Linked DNA regions of Homo sapiens: all the other regions are linked to region 1. Evidence: promoter capture Hi-C in human tissues and cell types (Jung and others, 2019). All regions are on one chromosome and are shown on one strand. Each heading gives the region's core, a stretch centred on a gene start or on the middle of the fragment in contact. The rest is flanking DNA. Distances are from core to core; before and after follow the strand shown.

What was found. Contacts are between HindIII fragments. The study calls those that stand out against the background at their distance.
Region 2: a contact is called between a fragment that was not itself captured here and the fragment with the promoter of ERVV-1 in region 1, in 6 of the 25 tissues and cell types used here (H1 embryonic stem cells, mesenchymal stem cells, mesendoderm cells and 3 more).
Region 3: a contact is called between a fragment that was not itself captured here and the fragment with the promoter of ERVV-1 in region 1, in 1 of the 25 tissues and cell types used here (psoas muscle).

The regions. Positions count from the first base shown.
Region 1 is chr19:53,012,261-53,015,328 of GRCh38, forward strand. ERVV-1 (endogenous retrovirus group V member 1, envelope) reads left to right here and starts at 1,661. Exons shown (of 1, transcript NM_152473.3): 1 at 1,661-3,068. The coding sequence starts at 1,831. The region is part of intron 1 of LOC124904758 (a long non-coding RNA gene); the gene reads right to left. The HindIII fragment of the contact is 3,820 bases long and covers 1-2,669 here.
Region 2 is chr19:53,072,742-53,075,809 of GRCh38, forward strand. ZNF160 (zinc finger protein 160) reads right to left here. Exons shown (of 6, transcript NM_001322131.2): 4 at 2,316-2,442; 5 at 1,399-1,527. Among named protein-coding and RNA genes, the nearest start is that of ZNF160, 29 kb to the right of the region's middle. The HindIII fragment of the contact is 9,128 bases long and covers 1-3,068 here.
Region 3 is chr19:53,054,741-53,057,808 of GRCh38, forward strand. It overlaps LOC124904762 (a long non-coding RNA gene), which reads right to left. Exons shown (of 2, transcript XR_007067330.1): 2 at 2,658-2,845. Among named protein-coding and RNA genes, the nearest start is that of ERVV-2, 12 kb to the left of the region's middle. The HindIII fragment of the contact is 3,275 bases long and covers 1-3,068 here.

The DNA of each region.
Region 1 (3,068 bases), core at 411-2,910:
TTTTTTTGAGTCAAAGTTTCACTCTTAGTACCCAGGCTGGAGTGCAACGGCGTGATCTCAGCTCATCGCAATCTCTCCCTCCCAAGTTCAAGCGATTCTCCTGCCTCAGCCTCCTGAGTAGCTGGGATTACAGGCAGGTGCCACCAAAAAAAGACCAAAAAAAATTTTTTTTTTTTTTTGGTATTTTTAGTAGAGATGGGGTTTCTCCATGCTGGTCAGACTGGTCTTGAACTCCCAACCTCAGGTAATCCGCCTGCCTCGGCCTCCCAAAGTGCTGGGATTACAGGCATGAGCCACCGTGCCCAGCCAAATTTTTTTTTTTGTTCAATGTTGCCCAGGTTGGCCTCAAACGCGTAGCCTTGCCTCCTTGTGACCCAGGACAACCGGCCAGAGCCAATGCAGCTCCCTGTCCTGCTTAGTTGAGCCAGTTCAGCATTGGGAAGCTTACCCAGGGAAAGACTGATGGATGTATTTCACTCAATTGCCAGCCTGTAGAGGCTATAAATGCCTTCTGGTGTTTGTGGACACCTTTATTGGGTGGGTTAAAGCCTTTCCTACAAGAACAGAAAAGGCCCAGGAAGTAGCCAAGGTACTTCTTAAAAAAAAAAAAAAAATCATCCCGGCCGGGCGTGGTGGCTCACTTCTGTAATCTCAGCACTTTGGGAGGCCGAGGCAGGCGGATCACGAGGTCAGAGAATTGAGACCATCCTGGCTAACACAGTGAAATCCTGTCTCTACTAAAAAAGAGAAAAAATTAGGTGGGTGTGGTAGCGGGCGCCTATAGTCCCAGCTACTCAGGAGGCTGAGGCAGAAGAATGGTGTGAACCCGGGAGGTGGAGCTTGTGGTGAGCTGAGATTGTGCCACTGCACTCCAGCCTGGACAACAGAGCGAGACTCCGTCTCAAAAACAAAAAGAAAAAAAAAATCACCCCTCAGTGTGGGTTTAGTTTGTGTTTACAAAGTGACAACGGCCCAGTTTTTATTTCACGCACCCTTTAATTAGTGACAAAAGCCCTAGAAATAAAGTACTCCTAGCACTCCTGGAGAACACATTCCTCTGGCAAGGTAGAAAGCACTAATCAAACTATTAAAAGGACCCTGAACAAAGTGTGCCAGGAAACCTCCTCACCATGGTTAGAACTCCTGTCCGTAGCACTGTTCTGAGCATGACCCCTAATATTACTTATGCCTTCCTACATGCAGACCTAATGTTAGATCCAGAAGTTACCCAATTAATCAAATACATAACATCACTGGCCCAATTTCAACAAGCCATCCAGGAGTTTGAGCAAAAGGTACTGCCTGCCACTGACCCCTCCAGTAATCAACCCTTATACTAGCCAGGGTCACAAGTCCTCATCAAAACCTGGAGAGATGGGTCACCCAGGTCTCAACTAGCCTGGGTCTCTCCTTTATGGAAAGGCCCCTTTATTACTTTCTACCCCGACAGCTATCAAAGTTTCTGGAATCTCTAGTTGGATACATCACTCCTGAGTAAAACTGTGAGAAGGTCCCGAAGAACCAACAACAGAATCAGCATCTGAGTAGTCTCATGAGCCAGCCACTGGAGAGCTTCCAATTCCTCTTCAAGTGAAAAGATAAGTAAAGCCTTCTCTCCTTTCACCTCAAAAAAAGGTCTCTCAGTACGGGGAATCTTGGTTGCGGTGGCATCGGTTCTTCTCCTTATTTTGACCCACACTGGCATGCCACCTGAAGTCCCGATAACAGCCTGATTTCTCACTAAACACTCCATCGAACCATTTCATTATTTGTCTCTCCTATTTTCAGCACTTTCCTTTTGCTTTCACAAAGCTTAAGGGAGAATCAGCTATGACAGAGAAATTCCTTTTCCTTTATCTTTCCCTCCTTCCCATGCCCCTACTCTCACAGGCACAGTGGAATGAAAATTCCCTTGTCAGTTTTTCCAAAATAATTGCTTCGGGAAACCATCTAAGCAACTGTTGGATCTGCCACAACTTCATCACCAGGTCCTCATCTTACCAATATATTTTGGTAAGAAATTTTTCTTTAAACCTAACATTTGGTTCAGGAATCCCTGAAGGCCAACATAAATCTGTTCCGCTCCAGGTTTCGCTTGCTAACTCAGCGCACCAAGTCCCCTGCCTGGATCTCACTCCACCTTTCAATCAAAGCTCTAAAACTTCTTTCTATTTCTACAACTGCTCTTCTCTAAACCAAACCTGTTGTCCATGCCCTGAAGGACACTGTGACAGGAAGAACACCTCTGAGGAGGGATTCCCCAGTCCCACCATCCATCCCATGAGCTTCTCCCCAGCAGGCTGCCACCCTAACTTGACTCACTGGTGTCCAGCTAAACAAATGAACGATTATCGAGACAAGTCACCCCAAAACCGCTGTGCAGCTTGGGAAGGAAAAGAGCTAATCACATGGAGGGTTCTATATTTGCTTCCCAAGGCACACACTGTCCCCACATGGCCAAAATCTACTGTTCCCCTGGGAGGGCCTCTATCCCCTGCATGCAATCAAACTATTCCAGCAGGGTGGAAATCGCAGTTACACAAGTGGTTCGACAGCCACATCCCCCGGTGGGCCTGTACCCCTCCTGGCTATGTATTTTTATGTGGGCCACAAAAAAATAAACTGCCCTTTGATGGAAGTCCTAAGATAACTTATTCAACCCCCCCTGTGGCAAACCTCTACACTTGCATTAATAACATCCAACATACGGGAGAATGTGCTGTGGGACTTTTGGGACCACGGGGGATAGGTGTGACCATTTATAACACCACCCAACCCAGACAGAAAAGAGCTCTGGGTCTAATACTGGCAGGGATGGGTGCGGCCATAGGAATGATCGCCCCATGGGGAGGGTTCACTTATCATGATGTCACCCTCAGAAATCTCTCCAGACAAATAGACAACATAGCTAAGAGTACCAGAGATAGCATCTCTAAACTCAAGGCCTCCATAGATTCTCTAGCAAATGTAGTCATGAACAACAGATTGGCCTTAGATTACCTCTTAGCAGAGCAGGGTGGAGTCTGTGCAGTGATCAGTAAATCCTGTTGCATTTATGTCAATAACAG
Region 2 (3,068 bases), core at 569-3,068, 61 kb after region 1:
TCGGGAGGCTGAGACAGGAGAATCTCTCGAACCCAGGAGGCAGAAGTTGCGGTGAGCCGAGATCGCACCATTGCACTCCAGCCTGGGCAACAAGAGCGAAACTTCATTTAAAAAAAAAATTATTGTCCGTGGAATAATAAACAGTTTTGTCTTAAGAGAAAGAAGCATTTTTATTTAGAACCAACACAATAAGAACTGGAATATGATTTTTAAAAAAATTCTATATTGACAAATTATAGTTATATATATTTACAGGAAACAAACTGATATTCTGTTATAGGTATACAATATGGACTGATGGAAACAAGCCTATTACCATATAAGTCATCTCAAAAACCTATCATTTACTCCTAATGTTTTCACCCAGTGACCAACATCTCCCTATTCCCTCCAGTCCCCAACCTGTGGTAACCCACATTCTACTCTTTGCTGCTATTAGTTTTATTGGTTTAGATTCCAAATGTAAGTGACAACATGCAGTACTTGTATTTCTGTGCTGAAGCCTGGAAAAACAGAATACGCACCCCATGTAAGACTGAGGATCAATGACAGAAGGATTTTGTTAGGTGTCTTTACGGTTATGCTGAGAACAATCTTAGAAGATAGAACCCACTCGCTTATCACACACCCCCATGAAAGTGGCAAAAGCAGAATGGAAGAAATGGCCGAGGGACCTCGACAGGCGGAGACGGCTGGAGACTCTTCCATGAGGTTTGGGGCAGCAGATGCCAAGGAGCAGCAGCCAATGTTTCCATCTCCTGAGCAGGTCTTCCACGCACAGGAAATGGGGTGGAACATAAACAGGTCTAGACGTCAGGACTAAGGACTATGGAGGCTTCCCCTCTGACCCATATGGACTAAGAACTGAGCACCATATGGAATTAAATACAGAGGGAGAGACCAAGAAAGAAAGCAGTTTCTTCAGAAGGAACCATAGAGTTCAAATGACAGGGTGTTGTCCATCATGATAAAGACTTTGCCTCTATCTCTAAGGCAACTTATTTTCCCAAAGAACTCTCTCATCTGCAGAGAGTTTCCCACTTTATTTATTTATTTATTTTGAGACGGAGTTTTGTTCTGTCCACCCAGGCTGGAGTGCAGTGGCATGATCTTGGCTCACTGCAACCTCCACCTCCCGGGTTCAAGCAATTCTCTTGCCTCAGCCTCCTGAGTAGCTGGGACTACAGGCACACGCCACCATGCCCGGCTAATTTTTTTTTGTATTTTTAGTAGAGATAGGGTTTCACAATGTTGGTCAGGCTGGTCTCGAACTCCTGACCTCAAGTGATCTGCCCACCTTGGCCTCCCTAAGTGTTGAGATTACAGGCGTGAGCTACTGTGCCCCCTCCCACACTCTAGTTAATGAGTGGCCTTCTCTCTGCCCATCTGAGCTCTTACCTGTGACCACGCCTTTGACACATTCCGGCGTTCTTGGTTTTCTTGCTATTTTCACACAGCTCTTCACAGTCCAGGGCTCTTTCCCTTCCTCCAACATGGAGATAATATTCATATCAAAATGACACAGTCCTGTTTATAAAAAGAAAGGATCACAATGTGCCGGGGCTTTTCCAGAATCCCAGCCCTATGTTTACATGAGAGGACATTATATGTGGATCTAAGAAAACTTCAAAAATTCATCCACTGGGCCAGGCGCGGTGGCTCATGCCTGTAATCCCAGCATTTTGGGAAGCTGAGGTGGGTGGATCACAAGGTCAGGAGATGGAGATCATGATGGCTAACATGGTGAAACCCTGTCTCTACTAAAAACATAAAAAAAAATTATCCAGGTGTGGTGGCGGGCGCCTGTGGTCCCAGCTACTCGGGAGGCTAAGGCAGGAGAATGGCATGAACCTGGGAGGCAGAGCTTGCAGGGAGCCTAGATCACGCCACTGCACTCCAGCCCGGGCGACAGAGCGAGACTCCGCCTCAAAAAAAAAAAAAAAAAATCATCCACTGAATGCCTCCTTCTGAATACCCAGGAAACATGGTACATGCTGATAGAAGGCTCTATTCCACCAACAACTTAATCCAAAGCAGAGAGGTAGAAAACAGGAAATCTGACATTTCAAAAGTCTAACACAATGTATTATGCATACAAAAGCTCTGAAACCTCAAATGATGAAGTACAAAGGAGGCAGAACATCTGAGAAAGGGGAAGATTAAAGTCCAGGTTTCCCATGATTAAGCTTTCCATTTCAGAGTCAACAGGACTTCAATCTCAGTCAAGCAATGCAGGGGCTCTCCAGGGACTCGTAAGGGAAAATGCAACAATAGACAAGAACAGATCTTGACTTCTGGAAGAAAGTCATCCTCACCCAGAGAAACAAGGTTCCAGTAGTTCTCCAACATCACGTCCCTGTATAAGATCCTCTGAGCAGGGTCCAGGCATTTCCACTCCTCCTGAGAGAATTCTATGGCCACATCCCTAAATGTCAACCGTACCTAAAATGAAAAACACATTTCACCAAGTGGCTAAGGGGAGAGTTCAAAATTTCACATAAAAGGAGAAGAGGAGAAAAATGTGAGAATAGGTTAAATTGAAGTGGGTGAGCTGACAGATCCAGATTGTGACAATGTGACATACAGATTTGGTCTTCATCCCCCTCTCCTGACATAAGAGCTCACTTGAAATCAGTGGAGTGATAAGTATCTTTTTGTACATTAATGGGATAATTGGTGTCTGGAGCACCTAGGTAGCTTCAGGATGGAGGGCGGTCACCGGAACTAAGGCTCGGTGGGTGGTCACTGGAAAGGCTGAGGCTCGGTTAGACTAAGCCTCTGTCCTCTCGGGAGGACAGAGGGAATGAAAGTTCAGTTGATCACCAATGCCAATAATGGAAGCAAGGCCTCCATAATGGGGCCTCCATGAAAACTCAAAAAAGACAGAATACATGAGAGAATACATCCCAGCTCCTCACTCCTTTCCCATATCTCAACTAATAGATCACTTCCATCTAGATGTTCATCTGTGTGCTTTGTAGCATCTTCTATAATAAATGGGTAAATATAAGTGTTTCCCTGTGTTATGTGAGCCACTCAAGCAAACTAATCAATTTCAAGGAGGGGGT
Region 3 (3,068 bases), core at 245-2,744, 42 kb after region 1:
ACTCCAGGCTGGGTGACAGAGCGAGACTCCGTCTCAAAAAAATAAAAATAAAAATAAAAAAGAATTTGGAATCAGAAACACAGTGACTCACTTGTAGAGTTTCAAACATAACATAAACGAGGCAGGAATGCTTTCCCCTTAGTGTTCTAATTTTAAAGCATTTAGCAGGAACTTGTGCACAGTAATATTTGACTTCATGGGCAGTTTCTTGAATCCTGTTCTGCAAAGAGGTGGCATGCATCCAGATGTGGCCCCTAAACAATCCCTGCTGCCCAGCATACAACCCACACAAATATACGACAAGAAAACAAAACCTTAGACCAATATCCCTGAAAATATTGGTGAAAAAGTCCTCAACATAATATTAGGGGGCCCACACCCCATCTCCAATCCAGGCCCCAGTGGAGCTTCTTCCCAAGTTCATGTCACTAGGTCACGGGCAATGGAATGTAAGTGAGATAAGAGGGACTGAGGGACCGCATGGGTGAGTGAGCAAATATGTCAGGCAGGATGCTTCAGACTCAAAGACTTGCAACTCCAAAGAATGACATTTTGTTATTGTAGGTAACTCCTCTGGTATGAGCAGAGCAGGGCAGGGCAGGAGAGGGCTCCCCCTCCCCATACACACACATCAGGAATGTCAGGCAACTATCAGATGATGGTCAGGTGGTTGTTAAACATGTAAAATAATAGTCACAGCTGGCACCAGGGAAAGGCAGGCTCCTCACACACAGAAAACACCTGAAACTGGTGATCTGCTGCTTCCCATGAGATCTCAGGAGTTGGGCGAGTGGACTCAAGCACGCACATGCGGACAGCCCACCCCAAGGGAAGAATCAGGGAAGCAAGACCCCGGAAGTATACCAATGTATAAAACCCCAAGTCAAAAGGTCGAAGTGCACACTTGCCTTTCAAGTCACCCACTTGGCACTTGGCCGTCTTCCAACTGTACTTTCCTTCCTTTCATTTCTGCTCTAAAGCTTTTTTTCTTTTCTTTTCTTTTCTTTTTTTTTTTTTTTTTTTTTGAGACAAGGCCTTGCTGTGTCACTCAGGCTGGAGTGCGATGACATCATCTTGGCTCACTGCCAACCTCCACATCCTGGGCTCAAAAGATTCTCCTGCCTCAGCCTCCCAAGTAGCTGGGATTACAGCCATGCACCACCACACCCGGCTAATTTTTATCTTTTTTGTAGAGATGGGGTTTTGCCATGTTGCCCAGGCTGGTTTTGAACTGCTGGACTCAAGTGATACGCCCATCTCAGCCTACCAAAGCATTGAGATTACAGGTGTGAGCCACTGCGCCTGGCCATTTCTGCTCTAAAACTTTTTATTCATTCATTCATTCATTCATTCATTCATTTATTTTTGAGACGGAGTTTTGCTCTTGTTGCCTAGGCTGGAGTGAAATGGCGCCATCTCGGCTCACTACAACCTCCGCCTCCCACGTTCAAGCGATTCTTCTGTCTCAGCCTCAGGTCAGGCTGATCTCGAACTCGAGACCTCAAGTGATCTGCCGCCTCAGGTCAGGCTGGTCTCGGACTCTCGACCTCACATGATCTGCCGCCTTGGCCTCCCAAAGTGCTAGGATTATAGGCATGAGACACCGCGCCCGGCCCTGCTCTAAAACTTTTTAATAAACTTTTGCTTTCATTCCTGCTCTAAAACTTGCCTCAGTCTCTCCTTCTGCCCTATGCCCCTCAGTTGAATTTTTTCTTCTGAGGAGGCAAGAATTGAGGTTGGTGCAGACCTGTACGGATAGGGATTCACCACCTGTAACAATTTCAGAAATAAGAGAAATAAAAATCAACCGATACTATTACTTTACCTGAGTAAGAGCCATCCCTGTTTCCTTTTCTTCCTCTTCTAGGCATCTTCCTTGGGTAACATGAAAAAGCCTTTACAAGTCGATCCTGAATGTCTAAAATATGCCATTTAATGACTGGAATCAACACCCTCATTTTTGTGCCTCAAACACCCATTCAGGGAAGCCCTCACTGTGGAAAGCCAGTTCTCTGGGAGTCATTGCACCAGATGGAACACAGGGACGACAGGCTCCTACAGGAAGACCAACAGGTGAGTTTTGGGCCCATTTCTTCAGAACCCGCTCCCCTCCCAGAGAAGCCCACACACACACTGCAGCCGTGGGAAGCTGGGCTGGACTGAGCTTCTCTTCAGGACACAGACCCAGCCCTGACCAAACCCCATGCAGAGCACAGCCCCCCTCACCCATCTGTGGATCACAGGCTGATTTCAGCCCTTAGAAACAAAGGGCGGAGCCTGGGTGCTCAATGCTGGACACCCATGGAATCACCTTTAAATATTATTAAGGACACGTCCCAATGTATTTGAATGAAAACTTCAGGTAAGGGGGCACCAGAGGTGTGCCTGCAAAATGCCCCAGATGCCTGCTGGACTCCCAGAGGAGAGTTGAAGAGACAATTGGACACAGGATTCCAGTGTTCAGGGGAGAGGTCTGCAGGGAACATGGAGCCGTGTAGGTGGGTTTAAAGCCATGAGATGAGATGATAAGGGCAGTGGGTGTGGGCAGAGATCAGAAGTCCGAGGGGTAAGCTGAGGGTCACTCCACATTCAGAAAACAGAGCTCAAGACATACTAGAAGAGAAAAGTGTAAAGTGATCAGGGAGGCAAGAAGAAAATTAAGAGAAATACATTTTTATTTTTTTTAATTAAAAACATTTTTGACGTGGAGTCTTGCTCTCTCGCCCAGGCTGGAGTGCAGTGGCGCGATCTCCGATGACTGCAACCTCCCTCTCTCGGGATCAAGCGATTTGCCTGCCTCACCCTCAGAGTAGCTGAGATTACAGGCGTGCAGCACCACATCCGGCTAATTTTTAGTAGAGACGGGGGTTTCACCATGTTGGGCACGCTGGTCTCGAACTCCTGACCTCAAATGATCCACCCGCCTCGGCCTCCCAAAGTGCTGGGATTACAGGCGTGAGCCACCGCGCCTGGATCCTTCTTTCGCTCTTCCCGTCTCTGCGAATCCCGACCCATCCTCTACTTTGCCATGTGTTTATGGGTTTCCTTCATTCTTTCCTCTCAGTTTT